Regions from separate parts of the Homo sapiens genome. Here regions 2 and 3 are each linked to region 1. The links are contacts of gene promoters, found by promoter capture Hi-C in blood cells and fetal thymus (Javierre and others, 2016). All regions are on one chromosome and are shown on one strand. Each heading gives the region's core, a stretch centred on a gene start or on the middle of the fragment in contact. The rest is flanking DNA. Distances are from core to core; before and after follow the strand shown.

Region 1 (2,806 bases), core at 142-2,641:
ACCAGGGGCTGTATGGAAGATTCTGGGGTACTGGTTACATAGATGTCTTCATTTGTGATTCTGGCACATTTTTGTATATATAATTTCCTTCAATAGAAGTTTACTAGAGCAAAAAAGGGAAGCCTGACCATGCCACTCCCTCCCCTTTTTTTGAATTCCTTTATTGTTTTCCTTTGCTCCCTTTCCCTTCCCAGTCTGAGCAGAACCTGTGGCTACCAAGTTCCTGGATGGCCTGGCCTCTGGCCACCTCTGTACCATTGCCTCTTTGCCTCTGGTACTCTAGTCACCCTTGCCTTCTGTTGTTAGTGCCATGCCTCCCGCTTGTCACAGGGCCTTTGCACAGGCATATTTCTCTGGTCCAAAGCCCTTATCTTAATCCATTTGGGCCTATGACAAAATACCACAAAGTGGGTAGCTTATAAACAACAAACATTCATTTATCACATTTTTGAAGCCTAGGAAATCCAAAATTAAGGCTCTGACAGATTCCGTTGTCTGCTGAACCCATTTCCTGGTGACACCTTCTCACTACATCTTCACATGGTGGAGCTCTCTCTAGTCTCTTCTGCAAGGGCACCAATTCCAATCATGAGAGAACTGCTCTCATGACCTAATTACCTCCCAAGACCCCACCTTTTAATGCCATCACCTTGGGGGTTAGGATTTCAGCACATGAATTTTGGAGGGACAGAAATGTCCAGACCATAACAGCCCTGTTGAAGTCTATTTATCCTTTAGCTCAGAGCTCAAAGGTGGCCTACCCACCACCCCATCCAAGTCTAGTACCATTGATATGGCCTTTCATAGAACTACATTCCTTTCTTTGAAAGCACTCATCTTCACTTGTCATTATGAATTCATACGGTAATTATCTGCCCTGTCTTTTCCACTAGCCCATATGTCTTAGGAGGTTTGCCTATGTTTTTTTCCTGCATTGTATCCCCAGCACCATTCCCAATACTTAGTAGGTGCCTGATAACCACATGTTGGATGAATAAATGAATATAGACGAATTGGGCTTATAAAAAGCTTTCTTCTAATTAGAGTACACTACAGAAAGATAGGATGCCAAACTAAAGAATTCAGATTTCTTTTAGATAGGCAACAAGGAGCCATTGAAGGTTTTTGAGAAAGGAAGATGCGTGGACAGACCTTTATTTTATTAAGATCTCTGTGGAGGTAGAGGTGGAGAGGCTGCAAGGAGGCTGTGGCAGAGTCCAGAGGAGACATAGCGCCTGAAGAGGGGTAGTGGCCACATGGAGAACAGTGGGAGGTGGCCAATGTCCCACCTCCACTCTGACCTCAGGGCCAGCTACCAAGACGGGCAATGACTTCACAATCACTGCCCAGGCCTTCCACCTTTTAAGGCCAATATCCCAGGGTCTTGGCTCACTCTGCCCTTTATGTTCACATCTGGAGGCCACACCCTACCTTCTAAGTCACCAGGCCATCAAGTCCAGACAAAGGGATCGAAAGAGTGAGACAGTGCCAGCCACCTCCCACCCAAGCCACTAGCAAGACTCCACAATGTCAGAGCAACAAATGGACCTGAAGGATTTAATGCCCACAAAGAGGAAATACATGTGGAAGACTGCTGAAGATAGGCGCATGTCTGACCTCACCTGTGTGCTGGAGTGGCTGGAGCGGAGGCAGGGGAAGAAGAAACAAGCTCCCGAGGTGGGTACCATCCAAGAGAAATGGCAGGAAGACTTTACTCAAGGTAGTTGCAGTAGGGGAGAGAGATTGAACTTAACTCTCCTGAAACAAAAGGCGGGATGGTTTTGAAGTGCTGGGATAAGCTAGTGAGAACTACCCAAGGACATTAAGGGGGTGGGGGAATTAGTTAATATGATTAGGCTGTCTGTGTTGCTAATTCGCACTTATAAATGTTAGGCTCCCATCCTCTCACAGAGACTGAGAGACAAGGTACAATCTTTCTTGATGATTACATTTCAAAGGGTCCTCCCAGGTCCTTGAGAAAAACATTCCTGGATTGTAAAACTAGCAAGAGACTGAGAGATTTACATCTCAAAGGGGCAGAGAAAAAATTTACAAATCCAAGTTTTCTAGAGGAAATGCTCTAAGGAAAAGGAGGCCAAGGGCCTATCATCAGGAAGAAACCTGTCTAAAGTTTAGTCAAGCTGGGCAAATGTTAGTATTGGTCAGAATTCTAGAAGGGCCAAGGGGCAGTGGCTTCTGGGTCTCCATATTGCAGGATGGGATCCTCCTACTGCCCTCAGCTCTTCTCTCCTTGTGATGCCTTCAGAATCAAAGAACATTCATTCCTCACTGCCATTACTGCAACTGCAACTCCAGCTAACATACCTCCTCTTTTCTACCCTACATCGAGCTAGTTCTAACCCACCCTTTCCTCTTTCTCCAAGAAATGTAGCAACCAAGTTTGCCTTAGTTTTTCCCAGAGCTCCCCCAAGACCTATCATCTATGAAGAACCAAGCCATGTCTTTGGAAAGTGGTGTCCTCTGCAGAAGATGCCACCTGGTCTTGAATCTCCTGACCCTAGAGCAAAATGAGTAAAAAATGCCATTACTAATAACAATGCTCAACACATCACTAACTTTTAATGTTTACTGTGGTCAAGGCCCTGTGCTTAGATTTGTACCTGGGTTATGTGGTCAATTGCTCCCAGTCAGGCTACCAGGGAGGCACCATTTTTACCCCTAGTTGAAGGATAAGGAAAGTGAAAATAAGTCATTTTATTGAAGTCACAGAAGTAATAAAGGGCAGAGCCAGGGCTCAAACTGAGGTTTTCCAATTCCCAAATGCATAGACTCCTCTGCTTTATCC
Region 2 (2,806 bases), core at 133-2,632, 700 kb before region 1:
AAAAGATCAGATGGAAGAAGGTGCCATCTTTCATAGCTAGAAAGGAGAAGTCAATGCCTGGCTTCAAAGCTTCAAAGGACAGGCTGAATCTCTTATTAGGGGCAAGTGCAGCTGATGACTTTAAGTTGAAGCCAGTGCTCATTTACCATTCCCCAAATCCTAGGGCCCTTAAGAAACATTTTAAATCACTTCTGCTTATGCTCTATAAATGGAACAACATAGCCTGGATGGCAGCACATCTCTTTATAGCATGGTTTACTGAATATTTTAAACCCATTTTTGAGACCTACTGCTTAGAAAAAAGTCTTTTCAAATTTTATTGCTCACTACAAATAATAACAATAAATAAAAAATAAAAAGGCTGGGTGCAGTGGCTCATACCTGTAATCCCAGCACTTTGGGAGGCCAAGGTGGAAGGATGACTTGAGTCCAGGAATTCAAGACCAGCTTGGGCAACGTAGGGAGACCCTGTTTCTACAAAATAATAATAAAAAAATTTACTGCTTATTGACCAATGCACCTGGTCACCCAAGAGCTCTGATGGAGGTGCACAAGGAGATTAACGTAGTTTTCATACCTGATAACACAGTTCTGCAACTGACAAATCAAGGGGTAATTTTGGCTTTAAAGGCTATAGCTGCCATAGACAATGATTCCTCTGTTGGATCTGGGCAAAATGAATTGAAAGTCTTCCGGAAAAGATTCACCATTCTAGATGTCATTAAGAACACTTGTGATTCACAACATTAACAGGAGTTTGGAGGAAGTTGATTTCAACCGACATGGATGACTTTGAAGGGCTTAAGATTTCAGTGAAAGAAGTCACTCCAGATGTGCTATAAATAGCAAGATAATTAGAATTAGAAGTGAAGCCTGAAGATGTAATTGAACTGTTGCAATCTCATAAAACTTGAATGGGTAAGAAGTTGCTTCTTATGGATGAACAAAGAAACTGGTTTCTTGAAATGGAAACTACTTGTAATAATGCTGTGAAAATTGTTGAAATGACAACAGTGTTTAGAATATTACATACATTTAGTTGATAAAGCCATGACAGGATTTGACAGGATTGGATATGATTTTTTTTTTTTTTGAGACAGTGTCTTGCTCTGTCACCAGGCTGAAGTGCAGTGGCGTGATCTCGGCTCACTGCAACCTCTGCCTCCCAGGTTCAAGCGATTCTCCTGCCTCAGCCTCCCGAGTAGCTGGGACTACAGGTGGGTGCCACCACGCCCAGCTAATTTTTGTATTTTTAGTAGAGACGGGGTTTCACCATGTTGGCTAGGATGGTCTTGATCTCTTGACCTCGTGATCTGCCTGCCTCGGCCTCCCAAAATGCTAGGATTACAGGCGTAAGCCACTGCACCTGGCCAACTGAATACAATATTTAAAGAAGTTCTACTGTGGGTAAAATACTACCAAACAACAGCACATGGTACAGAGAAATATTTCAGGAAAGAAAGAGTCAATCAATGAGGCAAACTTCACTGTTGTCTTATTTTTAGGAACTACTACAGCCACCCCAACCTTGAGCAACCATCACTCTGATCAATCAGCAGCCATCAACATTGAGACAAGACTCTCCACCAGCAAAAAGATTATGACTTGTCCGGGTGCGGTGGCTCACACCTGTAATCCCAGCACTTTGGGAGGCTGAGGCAGACAGATCATCTGAGGTCAGGAGTTCGAGACCAGCCTGACCAACATTGTGAAACCTGTCTCTACTAAAAATACAAAAAATTAGCCGGGCATGGTGGTAGGCACCTATAATCTCAGCTATTTGTAAGGCTGAAGCAGGAGAATTGCTTGAACCTGGGAGGTGGAGGTTGCAGTGAGCCGAGATCACATCATTGCACTCCAGCCTGGGCAACAAGAGCAAAACTCCGTCTAAAAAAAATATATATATATATATGACTCACTGAAGGCCCACATGATCATTCGCAATTTTTAGCCATAACGTATTTTTAAAATTAAAGTATATACATTGATGTTTTAGACATAATGGCATTGTACTCTTATTAGACTACAGCATAGGGTAAACATAACTCCTCTATGCACTGGGAAATAAAAAAATCTGTGACTCACTTTATTGCGACATTTGCTTTAGTGCGCCAGTTGGAACCAAGTCTGCAATCTCCCAGAGTATGCCTGTGTATAGTAATAATAATCACATACATGCCCTGAGGTGGTTGCAGGATAATGGGGCAGATTTCATGGTGGGCTTCCAGAATTCATTTTATGTTTGTGGTTTGCTTCACATGACTACACTTATGAATGGAATCTCCATGAGACAAGGGTCTTTGTTTCACTCCCTGCTGTGTCTGAACTCTTAGAATGGTGCTCAGCACACACAAAGGGTGACTTGGTGGCTGAGTGCATCTTCCCTAGTTCATTTGTGTGTATATATATATGATAGTAGTTATATGGTGACATGGGAAAGAACATTGGGCAAGGAAGTAGAACTGGATTTGAGCTCCGCCCTGATTTACCTTACTATTTGGGTGAACTTGGCCAGTTACTTTAATCCTTATGAGCCCCAATTACCTCATCTGTGGAATGGAGCAGTTACTGTGCTCCCTCTCTGGGGTCTTATAAGAATTTAATGCCAATGGGCTGTGAGAGAGCTATGTAAACTCTGAAGCGCATTATTTGATTAAAAGCTCTGGCTCATATGGCTGCCTTAGTTGTAAGAAATAGAAGCTTGCAAAGAAACAGCAGTGAGGTCTTACTATCAGGATGCACATAGCAAAAAAGGAAGCTAAGACTCTGACTTGTCCTGAGAGCCTTCAAAGAGTTGAAGTGAGGC
Region 3 (2,806 bases), core at 206-2,705, 670 kb before region 1:
CAATTGCTTTTGAGGACTTAGTCATAAATTCTTTTCCAAGGCAGATGTTCAGAATGGTGTTTCCTAGGCTTTCTTCCAGGATTATTACAGTTTGAGGTCTTACACTTAACTATTTAAACCGCCTTGAGTTAATTTTTGTATATGGTGAATGGTAGGGGTCCAGTTTCATTCTTCTGCATATAGCTAGCCAGCTATGTCAGCACTATTTATTGAGTAGAGAGTCCTTTCCCCATTGATAATTTTTGTCAACTTTGTCAAAGATCAAATGGCTGTAGATGTGTGGCTTTATTTCTGAGTTCTCTATTCTGTTCCATTGGTTTATATGTCTGTTTTTGTACCAGTACCATGCTGTTTTGGTTACTGTAGCCTTATAGTATACTTTGAAGTTGAGTTACACGATGTCTCTGGATTTATTTAGGATTTTGCTTTGGCTATTCAGGCTGTTTTTTGGTTCCATATGAGTTTTAGAATAGTTGTTTCCAATTCTCTGAAAAATGACATTGGTAGTTTGATAGGAATAGCATTGAATCTGTAGATTGTTTTGGGCAGTATGGACATTTTCGTGATATTGATTCTTCCAATCCATGAGCATGGAATGTTTTTCCATTTGTTTGTGTCATCTCTGATTTCTTTTAGCAGTGTTTCTTAGTTCTCCTCAGAGAGCTCTTCCGCCTCCTTGTTAGATACAGTCCTAGGTATTTTTTTAGTGCGTGTGTCTATTGTAAATGGTATTATGTTCTTTATTTGACTCCCAGCTTTAATGTTATTGGTGTATAGAAATGCTACTAATGTTTGTACGTTGATTTTGTACCCCAAAACTTTACTGAAGTCTTTTATCAGTTCCAGGATTTTTTTGCAGAGTCTTTAGGGTTTTCTGGATATAGAATCATATAATCAGTGAAGAGAGATAGTTTGACTTCTTTTCTGATTTGAATGCCTTTTGTTTCTTTCTTTTGCCTTATTGGTCTGGCTAGAACTTCCTGAAAGGTACTTTAAATATTGCTCTCTATCACTTTACAAGTAACATTTCTGTTTTTTTCAGATTGTTACAAAAGGAATCTTTCTTCTTTCTTTCTTTCTTTTTCTTTCTCTCTCTCCCTCCCTTCCTCCCTCCCTCCCCCTTCTTTCTCTCTCTCTTTCTTCCCTTCCTTCCTTCCTTCCTTCCTTCCTTCCTTCCTTCCTTCCTTCCTTCCTTCCTTTCTTTCTTTCTTTCTTTCTTTCTTTCTTTCTTTCTTTCTTTCTTTCTTTCTTTCTTTCTTTTTTCTTTCCCTTCTTTCCTCCCTCCACCTTCTTTCCTTGCTTCCTTCCTTCCTTCTTTCCTCCCTCCCTCCCTTCCTTCCTTCCTCCCTTCCTTTTGAGACAAGGTCTCACTCTTTCACCCAGGCTGGATTGCATTGGCATGATCATAGCTCATTGCAGCCTCGAACTCCTGTGCTCAAGTAATCCTCCTGCCTTGGCATCCCAAAGTACTGGGATTACAGGCATGAAGGAATGTGTTTTCTTTATGGCAAAATTGGAAAATCTAGAAAAGCACAAAAAGTAAAATAAAAACCACCTCTATCCTGTCACCTAGAGATAACCACATGTAGCAAGCATGTAATTCCAGCACTGTTTTTATGGGATCATTAATAGCTATATTTATTTAGTGTTAGCTATGTGTTTTATTAACATATGTGTTTCCTATTTTGGTCTCATTTATTCTCATGACTGTGAAGTAGGCATCTTTTTTTTCATTTTACAGATAAACAGGCTCAGAGAAATGTGACTTGCTTAAGGTCACTGTTCATTCTGTTGTATAAAATACTTTTTCCTTTTAATAATATTAGGTTTTCCTCCACAATTCAACATATTTCTACAACATTATTAAGGTTTTTAAAAGTTTAATTTTGTAAGTAGGTTATAATAGGTTCATGAGGTTAAAAATATATGAACAGGTTGGTGGGAATGTAAATTAGTTCAACCATTGTGGAAGACAGTGTGGCGATTCCTCAAAGACCTAGAACCAGAAATACCATTTGACACAGCAATCCCATTACTGGGTATATACCCAAAGGAATATAAATCATTTTATTATAAAGATACATGCACATGTATGTTCACTGCAGTACTATTCACAATAGCAAAGACATGGAATAAACCCAAATGCCCATCAATGATAGACTGGATAAAGAAAATGTGGTACATACACACTGTGGAATACTATGTGGCTGTAGAAAGGAAGAAGATCATGTCCTTTGCAGGGACATGGATGGAGCTTGAAGCCATTATCGTCAGCAAACTAATTCAGGAACAGAAAACCAAACACCACATGTTCTCACTTATAAGTGGGAGCTGAACGACAAGAACACATGGACACAGGGAGGGGAACAACACACCCTGGGGCTTGTTGGAGGGTGTCGGGGGAGGGAGAGCATCAGGATAAATAGCTAATGCATGTGGTGCTTAATACTTAGGTGATGGGTTGGTAGGTGCAGCAAACCACCATGACACACGTTTACCTATGTAACAGACCTGCACGTCCTGCACATGTATCCCAGAACTTAAAATAAAATTATATATATATGGGTTTATAGTAAAGAGTTTCCTTTCACTTTTGTGCCCCATCTAACAAGTTCTCCTACCAATAACTTGTTCTTTTGTTCTTTCTTGAGTCTGTTTTCAGAATCTCATGATTATATAAAGAAATAAACATATGTGTTTTTATTTTTCTGCAAAATATTACATGCTATAAACACTGCTCCTCACCTTGTTTTTTCACTTAACAAAGTATCTGGGAGAATTTTCTATATGAAATATATGGAGAATT

Evidence for each region. The method cuts DNA at HindIII sites, captures the fragments that hold promoters and counts their contacts. A CHiCAGO score of 5 or more calls a contact.
Region 2: a fragment that was not itself captured here is called in contact with the fragment with the promoter of C16orf78 in region 1 in 1 of 17 cell types (endothelial precursors); the score reaches 6.6 in endothelial precursors.
Region 3: a fragment that was not itself captured here is called in contact with the fragment with the promoter of C16orf78 in region 1 in 2 of 17 cell types (endothelial precursors and erythroblasts); the score reaches 8.1 in endothelial precursors.

The regions. Positions count from the first base shown.
Region 1 is chr16:49,372,413-49,375,218 of GRCh38, forward strand. C16orf78 (chromosome 16 open reading frame 78) reads left to right here and starts at 1,392. Exons shown (of 5, transcript NM_144602.4): 1 at 1,392-1,677. The coding sequence starts at 1,528. LOC105371244 (a long non-coding RNA gene) reads right to left here. Exons shown (of 8, transcript XR_001752167.2): 8 at 1-2,518. RefSeq lists enhancers at 845-1,575, 1,576-2,306. The HindIII fragment of the contact is 1,803 bases long and covers 1,028-2,806 here.
Region 2 is chr16:48,674,889-48,677,694 of GRCh38, forward strand. The region is part of intron 1 of LOC105371240 (a long non-coding RNA gene); the gene reads left to right. Among named protein-coding and RNA genes, the nearest start is that of N4BP1, 66 kb to the left of the region's middle. The HindIII fragment of the contact is 2,631 bases long and covers 68-2,698 here.
Region 3 is chr16:48,701,591-48,704,396 of GRCh38, forward strand. The region is part of intron 1 of LOC105371240 (a long non-coding RNA gene); the gene reads left to right. Among named protein-coding and RNA genes, the nearest start is that of N4BP1, 93 kb to the left of the region's middle. The HindIII fragment of the contact is 6,331 bases long and covers 1-2,806 here.